3 separate regions of the Homo sapiens genome follow, and all the other regions are linked to region 2. The links are contacts of gene promoters, found by promoter capture Hi-C in human tissues and cell types (Jung and others, 2019). All regions are on one chromosome and are shown on one strand. The core of a region is centred on a gene start or on the middle of the fragment in contact, and the rest is flanking DNA. Distances in the headings are between cores, read along the strand shown. Region 1 overlaps CLIP1 (CAP-Gly domain containing linker protein 1). Region 2 holds the start of CCDC62 (coiled-coil domain containing 62). Region 3 overlaps PITPNM2 (phosphatidylinositol transfer protein membrane associated 2).

The links. Contacts are between HindIII fragments. The study calls those that stand out against the background at their distance.
Region 1: a contact is called between a fragment that was not itself captured here and the fragment with the promoter of CCDC62 in region 2, in 2 of the 25 tissues and cell types used here (lymphoblastoid cells and stomach).
Region 3: a fragment that was not itself captured here is called in contact with the fragment with the promoter of CCDC62 in region 2 in 1 of the 25 tissues and cell types used here (bladder).

The regions. Positions count from the first base shown.
Region 1 is chr12:122,323,869-122,327,099 of GRCh38, reverse strand. The region is part of intron 17 of CLIP1 (CAP-Gly domain containing linker protein 1); the gene reads left to right. Among named protein-coding and RNA genes, the nearest start is that of VPS33A, 59 kb to the right of the region's middle. The HindIII fragment of the contact is 8,257 bases long and covers 1-3,231 here.
Region 2 is chr12:122,773,221-122,775,976 of GRCh38, reverse strand. It overlaps CCDC62 (coiled-coil domain containing 62), which reads right to left and starts at 1,405. Exons shown (of 13, transcript NM_201435.5): 1 at 1,271-1,405. The coding sequence starts at 1,306. RefSeq lists silencers at 541-835, 1,358-1,567 and enhancers at 1,038-1,177, 565-1,258. The HindIII fragment of the contact is 10,219 bases long and covers 1-2,756 here.
Region 3 is chr12:123,108,391-123,111,601 of GRCh38, reverse strand. It overlaps PITPNM2 (phosphatidylinositol transfer protein membrane associated 2), which reads left to right. Exons shown (of 26, transcript NM_020845.3): 2 at 1,114-1,217. Among named protein-coding and RNA genes, the nearest start is that of PITPNM2-AS1, 29 kb to the right of the region's middle. The HindIII fragment of the contact is 5,617 bases long and covers 1-3,211 here.

The sequences.
Region 1 (3,231 bases), core at 516-3,015, 450 kb after region 2:
CTATTGCTCAAAGGAAAGTAAATATTCACCTTTCTTTATTTTTAATGTGTTTATAGGAGTTTAGTAGAAAGAAATGATAAAAGAGCATATATAGGACTTGAAACCAATCTCATGAAAAGCCTCTTGCTAACTAAGTGGACATGACATGGTATGTGTGTGCCGTGCATGTCATCTGGGAGGCCCATATTCTCCCTCTTCTACATGCTGATAGTTGAGGATTTCTCTTCTTTCTGTGAAATACCTCCAGTTTTATGAGCCATTTAACACTAGATACAATTCCCAGATCTTTTGTCTTTGTGGTTTCCTTTATCTGTGCAGACTTCAGTTTTTTTTTTGTATTTCCTTTAAAATGTTTCAGCCTGAGCAAACCACAGCATCGCAGAAGCTGATGTAAGGTCTCCTCGGTTGTTGTTTGTTTTTTTGAGACAAGGTCTCACTCTGTCACCCAGGCTGAGTGCAGCGGCACAGTCATGGCTCACTGCAGCCTCAACCTCTCGGGCTCAAGTGATCCCCTTGCCTCAGCTTCCCAAGTAGCTGAGACTAAAAGCACGTGCCACTACACCTGGCTAATTTTTTATTTTTTGTAGAGACAGAGTCTCGCTATGTTGCTCAGGCTGGTCTCGAACCCCTGGATGCAAGCGATCCACCTGCTTCAGCTTCCCAAGGTGCTGGGATTGCAGGCGTGATTCATCGTTCCTGGCCAGTCTCACAAGGCGCTGGGGTTGCAGGCGTGAGCCACCATTCCTGGCCAGTCTCACAAGGCGCTGGGGTTGCAGGCGTGAGCCACCATTCCTGGCCAGTCTCACAAGGTGCTGGGATTGCAGGCATGAGCCACCATTCCTGGCCAGTCTCACTGATTTTGTTGGTTGGTTTTGTGCAAGAGTCATTGAGTTAAAAATGCCAGGACTGTTCCCCTCCAAACGTGTCTAGTATCTAATTTCAGTGGATCGTAATCAGTCCCAGACTCTTTGGAATAATCTAATGAAATCTACAGATATTTTTTCAGGAAAGTTTACGTGTGCACTCAACAAGGTTCCTGGAACCCATGAAGCCTCCTATTCCCTACTTTTAAGAGCCAGTGGGCTATAGCTGTGCTGCCTAATGTAGTAGCCACCAGCCATGTGAGGCCATTCAAATGTAAATTTGTAGCCAGTTCTGGTGGCTCACGCCTGTAATCCTAGCACTTTGGGAGGCCAAGGTGGGCAGATTGCCTGAGCACAGGAGTTTGAGACCACCCTGGACAACATCGTGAGACCGTCTCTACTACAAATACAAAAAATTAATTGGGTGTGGTGGCACACACCTGTAGTCCCAGCTACTCAGGAGGCTGAGGCAGGAGAATCCTTTGAGCCTGGGAGGCGGAGGCTGCAGTGAGCTGAGATGGTGCCACTGCACTCTGGCCTGGGTGACAGAGTGAGACTGTCTCAAAAAATAAATAAAAATAAAAACCTTAATATGGGAATATATGCGGTCTACATTATTTTCTCTATTTTTGTATATGCTTAAAAGAGGATCGCTTGAAACTGGGAGGCAGAGGTTGCAGTGAGCCGAGATCGCGCCACTTCCCTCCAGCCTGGGCCACAGAGTGAGACTCTGCCTCCAAAATAAATAAATAAATAAATAAATTTAAATTTGTTACATTTTAATTAAAAATTTAGCTCCTCAGTTGCACTCACCACATTTCAGGTGCTCAGTAGTCATATGGTCACCATGATGGGAGTGCAAATAAGAACATTTATATCAGCTGGGCGTGGTGGCTCATGCCTGTAATCCCAGCACTTCGGGAGGCCTAGGTGGGTGGATCACTTGGGGTCAGGAGTTTGAGACCAGCCTGGCCAACATGGTGAAACCCCGTCTCTACTAAAAATACAAAAATTAGCCGGGCACGGTGGCGGAGCCTTGTAATCCCAGCTACTTGGGAGGCTGAGGCATGAGAATAGCTTGAACCCAGAGGCGGAGGTTGCAGTGAGCCAAGATCGCACCATTGCACTCCAGCCTGGGCAATAGATAGAGCGAGACTCAGTCTCAAAAAAAAAAAAAAAAAATTATATCATTGCAGAAAGTTCTGGATAGCACTGGTATAGACACTGTGGTCAAATTATCTTATAATTCAGTAAATAAAAAAAAAAAACTATTCCTTTTAGTCAGCAAAGCCTAGAAATTAGGCTGTAGTTTTTAAGTTATATGTGATATTGGGACTAAATCACTCTCAGCCCCTCAGCTACCCTTAAGTAAGGTCCTGTGGTGAGTTTGGAAGGCAGTAGTTTATTTTCCCTTGTTATGCCCCTTCCTTTTTTCATTAAAATATACTGAGTTTTTGTACTTCTTTTAATTGTATTTTTAAAAATTGTTCTATGAATCCTTTCTGCTTTCAAAGTAATTTGATAATTGGAATGGCAGGAAAGAATCTTATGCCCTGATATTAAAATCAAGCTACTATTTTTATCTTCTAGGTAGCTACTGGGAATAATTTCACAAGTTGTTTCAAAGATAAAATAAGCTAACAGATACAGAAGCACTTTGCAAAACTACACTTTTGACTTACCTTTTTATGGGCTCTGTTTAGTTTCTTTCCCTTGTTATTCAGATAGTTTCTATAAAGTTTATTGTAGAAATTGTAAAGTTTTTATCATTTAGGTTACATTAAGTTATTTGGGCTTGCATTTGTCTGCTTGATTTCATTTTTGTTTCCATTCTTTCCATCTTTTGTTTCTGTAGTCGCTAACTTATTTGTTAACATCAGCCAAAAAAGAAATTGAACTAATGTCAGAAGAGCTGAGGGGTCTGAAATCAGAGAAGCAGCTTCTTTCTCAGGAGGGAAATGATTTAAAGTTAGAAAACGGTTCACTTTTATCCAAGCTTGTAGAATTGGAGGCCAAAATAGCTTTACTTCAGGGAGACCAGCAGAAACTGTGGTCAGTGAATGAAACTCTTAATTTAGAAAAGGAGAAATTCTTAGAAGAAAAGCAAGATGCCGAAAAGTATTATGAGCAGGAACATCTCAATAAAGAAGCTTTGGCTGTTGAGAGAGAGAAATTGCTTAAAGAAATCAATGTTGTACAGGAAGAACTCTTGAAGATAAATGTGGAAAATGACTCTTTGCAAGCTTCCAAGGTGAGCATGCAGGCACTCATTGAAGAGCTCCAGCTCAGCAAAGATACTTTGATTGCTAAGACTGAGAAGGACCAGGAAGAAAAAGATCACCTGGAGGACCAGATCAAGAAACTTATT
Region 2 (2,756 bases), core at 156-2,655:
AGGCCCTTTGTACCTCCTTACTGCTTTTTGAAAAGTAAGATTTGTAAATAAACAAGAATAATGAGGTTGGGCTCAGTGGCTCACGCCTGTAATCCCAGCACTTTGGAAGGCCGAGGTGGGCAGATCACCTGAGGTCGGGAGTTCGAGACCAGCCTGGCCAACATGGCGAAACCCTGTCTCTACTAAAAACACAAAAATTAGCTCGGCATGGTGGTGGGAGCCTGTAGTCCCAGCTATTTGGGAGGCTGAGGCGGGAGGATTGCTTGAACTCGGGAAGCAGAGGCTGCAGTAAGCCGACATTGCGTCACTGTACTCCAGCCCTGGGGACAGAGCCAGACCCTGTCTCAAAAATAAATAAATAAGAATGATGAATAAATTACAGTTGCTAGTCTTAACAAGGAAAATGGAATTTGGAGTCAAGGGATTTCAAGTCCCAAGGCTTGAATTCCAGTGTTGGGTTAGCCCTTCATTCATGCACTCAACAAATAATTTATTGAGCGCCAGTGGCTGGGCCACAGACCTCCAGGCAAGGAGCACATATTCCACTCCAGGAAAACAGGCAGTAAGCCGAGTACACAAAGGCAGGTCGTCTTACACTGATGGACGCGAACCTTGGGCAAGCCCACTTCCAGACTTTTTGGTACAGTGGAGTTGTGAGAGCTCCTTCCTCTACTCGCCAGGTTGTGTAAATTAAGGACACCCTGAGAGGTAAATGGGAAAGCAGCTCCCCAGACGCCAATCGTCCTCCTTAAACAGTAAGCACCGGGTACGCGCTACTCTGTGGCCCGGGCTGAATAACAAGGTGTTATTGGGTTAAGGAAACGGTCGTGACGCCGTTTTCCTCTAGTGTATTGTTTCACTTTTTTTTTTTTTTTTTTTTTTTGAGACGGAGTCTCGCTCTGTCGCCCAGGCTGGAGTGCAGTGGCGCGATCTCGGCTCACTGCAAGCTCTGCCTCCCGGGTTCACGCCATTCTCCTGCCTCAGCCTCCCGAGTAGCTGGGATTACAGGCGCCCGCCGCCACGCCCGGCTAATTTTTTTTTTTTTATTTTTAGTAGAGACGGGGTTTCACTGTGTTAGCCAGGATGGTCTCGATCTCCTGACCTCGTGATCCGCCCGCCTCCGCCTCCCAAAGCGCTGGGATTACAGGCGTGAGCCACCGCGCCCGGCCTGTTTCACATTTTAAGTAGACACCGTTCTTGAGAAGCAATAGATTTCGACCAATGTGCACCGTTCCCGCGGCGCCCCGCCGCGCCCGGAACCGCTGCTTACCTGGCGCCCGGCAAGGAAGGCTGCCGGAGGGTTCATAGGTGTTTCCTCCGCCCCCGGAGAAGCCCGGTGTGGGCGGCGTCACCTCAGAAACGCCATCGGCGCGCCTGCCCCGAGCGGCGGGGGCGAGCCCGGAGCCCCGGGGCCCCGCGCCCTCGGCCGACCCCCGCCCCGTACTCCAACCGCCTGCCTGGTGCCCACGCGGCGTGCGCCCGCCGGGGCTCGGGGCTCCCCGCCAGGGTTTCCGGGCCGCAGCCCCGCTGCGCTGGTGGGCACTGTTCTTCTGCCTCGGAAACTGGGGGCTCCCAAGTGGCTCAGGCTGCGTATGGACGCTTTTTGCCCACGCCCGAGGCTCCGGCGCTGGAAGGCCTGAAAGAACCGGCTGTTCACCACTACCCAGAGAATGAAGAAGTCAATAAAGGCTGCTGCGCCGCCCCCAGCACTCTGGTTTATGACATTTGAGTTGCTCACTTCCCTATCTTCCATCTTCCCCCTAATAACCGTGAGCTCGGCCGTGCTCGCTCCTGTGTAGCTGGCTCCCAGAACAGGACCTGACACTCGAATGCGTGGAGGCAGAGCCCAGCCCTCGGGGATAACAGTTGCGGGCTACCCTAGCACCTTTGATACTTTAAACCAAGAATCACAGATGAAGAGGGGGAAATTTACTCTTGGGAGCTCCTGAAAAGCAATGAGGAGAACCACGGTACTTTGTCATGACAAAATCTACGATATTCTGGGTTGAATCTAAGCTTTTTCACCTGTTCTTCCATAGTCACCTCTTCATCCCCCTTTCACTCTTCCTAAGATGTGGGAACGGGACTAGGAAAAAATAAGGCTTATCACACTTCAGCCCCGGCTGCCCATCCCTGAATGCTTAACCCATCAGACAGCAACACAATTACTAAATACGGTCGGTCTTACAGGGTTTCAACTTTACTTTTTGGTTGAATATGAAATGCCAAAACATGCCCTTGTGTTCAAAAAATACAATCTGAAAATGGAAAAACAAAATTAAGATTTCTTATTTTGAAGCTTTACTGATAGGCTCATGTTTGGGAGACCAAAGCAATGTCTTAGAATTTAAAATCAAGAAAGCTGGGCGCAGTGGCCTGTAACCCCAGCACTTTGGGAGGCCAATGTAGGAGGATCTGTTGCGTTCAGGAGTTTGAGACCAGCCTGAGCAACATGGTGACACCCACCTCTAAAAAACTTTTTTTTTTTTTTTTTTTGAGATGGAGTCTGGCTCTTGTTGCCTGAGCTGGAGTGCAATGGCACAATCTCGGCTCACTGCAAACTCTGCCTCTGGCCTCAAGCAAATCTCCTGCCTCAGCCTCCCGAGTAGCTGGGATTACAGGTGCCCGCCACCACGCCACCTTTGTTGTATTTTTAGTAGAGATGGGTTTCACTACCTTGGCCAGGCTGGTCGCGAACTCCTGACCTCAGTTGACCCACCCACTTCAGCCTCCCAAAGTGCTGGGATTACAGGTGT
Region 3 (3,211 bases), core at 390-2,889, 340 kb before region 2:
GCAGCCACACCTCCCACTGCTGTGTATTGCTAGCTATCTTCACACCTCCCCAATTCCACTCTCCCTCCTCTGTCTGGCCGTTCACTTGGCAGTTGATAACTTTGCCATCCCCAGCCACCATTCCATTTCCCTTTGTTAGGGCTGTGCTTGCCCCTAGCGGGCATGGACTGGTGTCTGAGGAGACCCCCACCATGCCTGTCCTCAGCTCCTAAAGCAGGGTTGCCCTGGAATTGGGCATCAGTTCCTGAAACACTCCCAGCTTCCATAGCCAGCAGATAAGCAGCCTCTCTGTCATGGTCATTGGAGAGCCCTGTAGGCTGCTACCTGCTCTCTGGGCCCAGGGTCAGGAGGCTTGTATGTGTGTCAGGCAAACAAGAATGTGTGTTGAGCTGCGAGGTGGGCTACCCGGCTTGTCTGTGGTCCCTGTAGGAGCCCTGGGTTGGGTAGTGGCTTCAGTGGTACCTGTGAAGACTTTGTCATCTCTGAGGCTGTTGGACCTGCGACTCTTTGGAAATCCATTTCTCCACCTTTTTCATTTTGTTTTGAATGCTTGTCTCTGGCCTCTGGGTAGTCAGATCACACTCTGCCCAGCTGGAGGGGCTTGCTGGAAGGCTGGAAGCCATTTGCATCACCCCACAATATGACCATGCCCCTGTCCCGGCATCAGGACGCCATCCTCTCGGACTGTGTCTCCCACTCTTCTTCCTGCATTACCTCATTTTCCAGCCTCCTCTCTGCGGTCTGAAGTCCTCCAATCCCAGTGGGGTTCATGAGTGAAAAATCAAGGTTTGAGACAGAGCTCCAGGGGCCTTTGAAAATAGGATGGCTTATGGTGTGTGCTGGTGGTCTCAGTTCCCACTCCCTGAGCAGTTTTCCTAAGTAGAAGGGGTGCCGGGCAATGTTGGGGTGTATCTGTCACCAATTCTGAGTTAGACACTTGCTTCCTGAATCGTCCTGGGCTGGGTCCCTTTGTAAAATGGAGACACCTTTAGTCAGATGTCCCCTGTTCAATCCTCTTGGTCCATCGGCATTGTGGGTCTCCCAGTTGGATTGGTGTGGAGTGATCAGAGTCCAGGTGTCTCACCTCCTCTCCCATTGTGCTTCTCCCTGCAGGATGCTGGCACGTGTGTCCTGGTCCTCAACAACCTTCTGTGAGCCTAGGGACCCATTTCTCCTCCTTTGACAGGGACATCAGTGGAGCCTTCTCAGACCCACAGGTAAGGCCGTCCACCTGTGCAGTAGCACCCTACTTCCCAGAGCTGAGGCCCTGCAGGCCACCCTGGCCTTTGGAGTTTGAGGGTACGGAGACTTTATTGCTGTTTCCCTTTTCCCCTAAAAACCGGACTATTGTTGGGCGCAGTGGCTCACACCTGTAATCCCAGCACTTTGGGAGGCTAAGGCAGGAGGATCACTGGAGGCCAGGATTTCAAGACAGCCTCGGCAACATAGTGAGACTGCATATCTCTGAAAAAAAAAATTAACTGGGTGAGGTGCCACATGCCTATAGTCCCAGCTACTGGGGAGGCTGATGTAGGACGATCACTTGAGCCCAGGAGTTCGAGGCTGCAGTAAGCCATGGTCGCACTACTTCACTCCAGCCTGAGTAACACAGTGAGACCCCGTCTCTTAAAAAGACACTATAAACCTGACTTTATCTGATTAATGTGGGGTAGATTGTATTTATTGATTACGCTTTTGCAAATATTGACTTCTTTTCACTAAATACGAAAGACCGATGTTCTGCCTCTGGTAGCTTTCGATTCCAAATAGGATAAAAACTGCTTGGGTCAGCCTTTGAGGCCCCAACGGCTGCTATTCTCCTGTTTATAGAGCACCCCAGAGTGGCTCTTTTCTGTTTGCTCTTGAGGCTTAGCCTGGCCTGCTCTACCCTTAGTACATGGAAGAGGACAGGCAGGAGTTATGCTTCTTCTGTGCCTTGGCTGGGAAGCTCAGGCTCTGGCTACTCGCTGGCTTTGGCAGAGAGCAGAGGCTGGGCTGCTGCCTTGCTCAGCTGCCCGCAAGTCATGGTCAGTGGCCCAGAAACAAGCATGAGTGTGGTTTTTAATGCACCATCCCTCTGGATGTACAGTGAGAAGCCAAGGCTGAGTGGAGGGTGGGCCTGAGCCTCTGTCTTGAGTCTCAGGGAGTGCCAGGTCTAGAGATTGAATGGCCCAGGGAGTAGCAGTCTCTCCCCTCCCACCCCCAGCTGGCAGCAGGAGCCCCTGGCCTCCCAAGCTTCTTTCCATTTCGTATTTCTTTGTCTCAGGCACAATCCCTGGCCTTGGCCCCATTTTCCATGCCAAGGCCTTTGTTGGGTGGAACAGGAGGTAAAGTGATTTTTCCTTCTTTTTTTCCTAAATGTTGATGAACCCTTCTCCTGTTCACTCATTGGCTAGTTTCAGCTTTGGAGGCACGGAGGATGGATGTTCCATCAAGGGAAGCTAGCAAAGCTGAGGTGAGGATGCTGGTGGGGGTAGGTTTAATGTACCCAGCCCCTGCTGCATGGGGCTAAGTCCCACAGTAACCATGAGCAGTGCCTGTTAGGGTCCCTTTTTACACAGGAAGCCGAGGCTCAGAGATGGCAGATATCAGCTCCAGGTTGCACAGCTAGTCAGTGGTGGGATTGGGATTGGACCCCGAGTCTAGACCTGGAAGCACATGGCATGGTTTTTCAAATTTGGCCTGTGACTCACAGGGCCCTTGGTTCAGCCCAGGCTCAACTGTTACTTGCTGTCTGATCTCGGGTAAGTCCCTTCCCTTCTCCGGGTGCCCTCATCCTTGCTGGGAAGATAGGGCACGTTGTGATGGGGCCTCTTAAGTTGCCTCTGTGGCTCCGTAGTTCCAGGCTGGCACCGTGGACTGTTATCTTCTCTAATTGCTCATTCTTTTCAGTTGCTGTGAAAAGGCCTCCAAGTGCTAAGAAGAGAGAGTGCTATGTTGTATTTTTTGTTTTTCTGTTTTGTTTTAATTCACTTTCCAAGGTGTCCCAGCTACTGGGAGTGGATGTAGGGGAGGGCACATAGTAACACTCAGCCCTGACTTGCAGCTTCTCCAGGGGTCACTCGGGTTCTGCGGGGTTGGGGCCTCGTGGTTGTCCTGTTGCCAAAGGTCTTGGCTGCCAAGTCGAGGCAGGGCCCGGTGAGAGCTCTTCTGCCCTGCATGGCCTGAGCACTGACATTGCTCTGAGGGACGCTGCTTCAACACAGCCTTG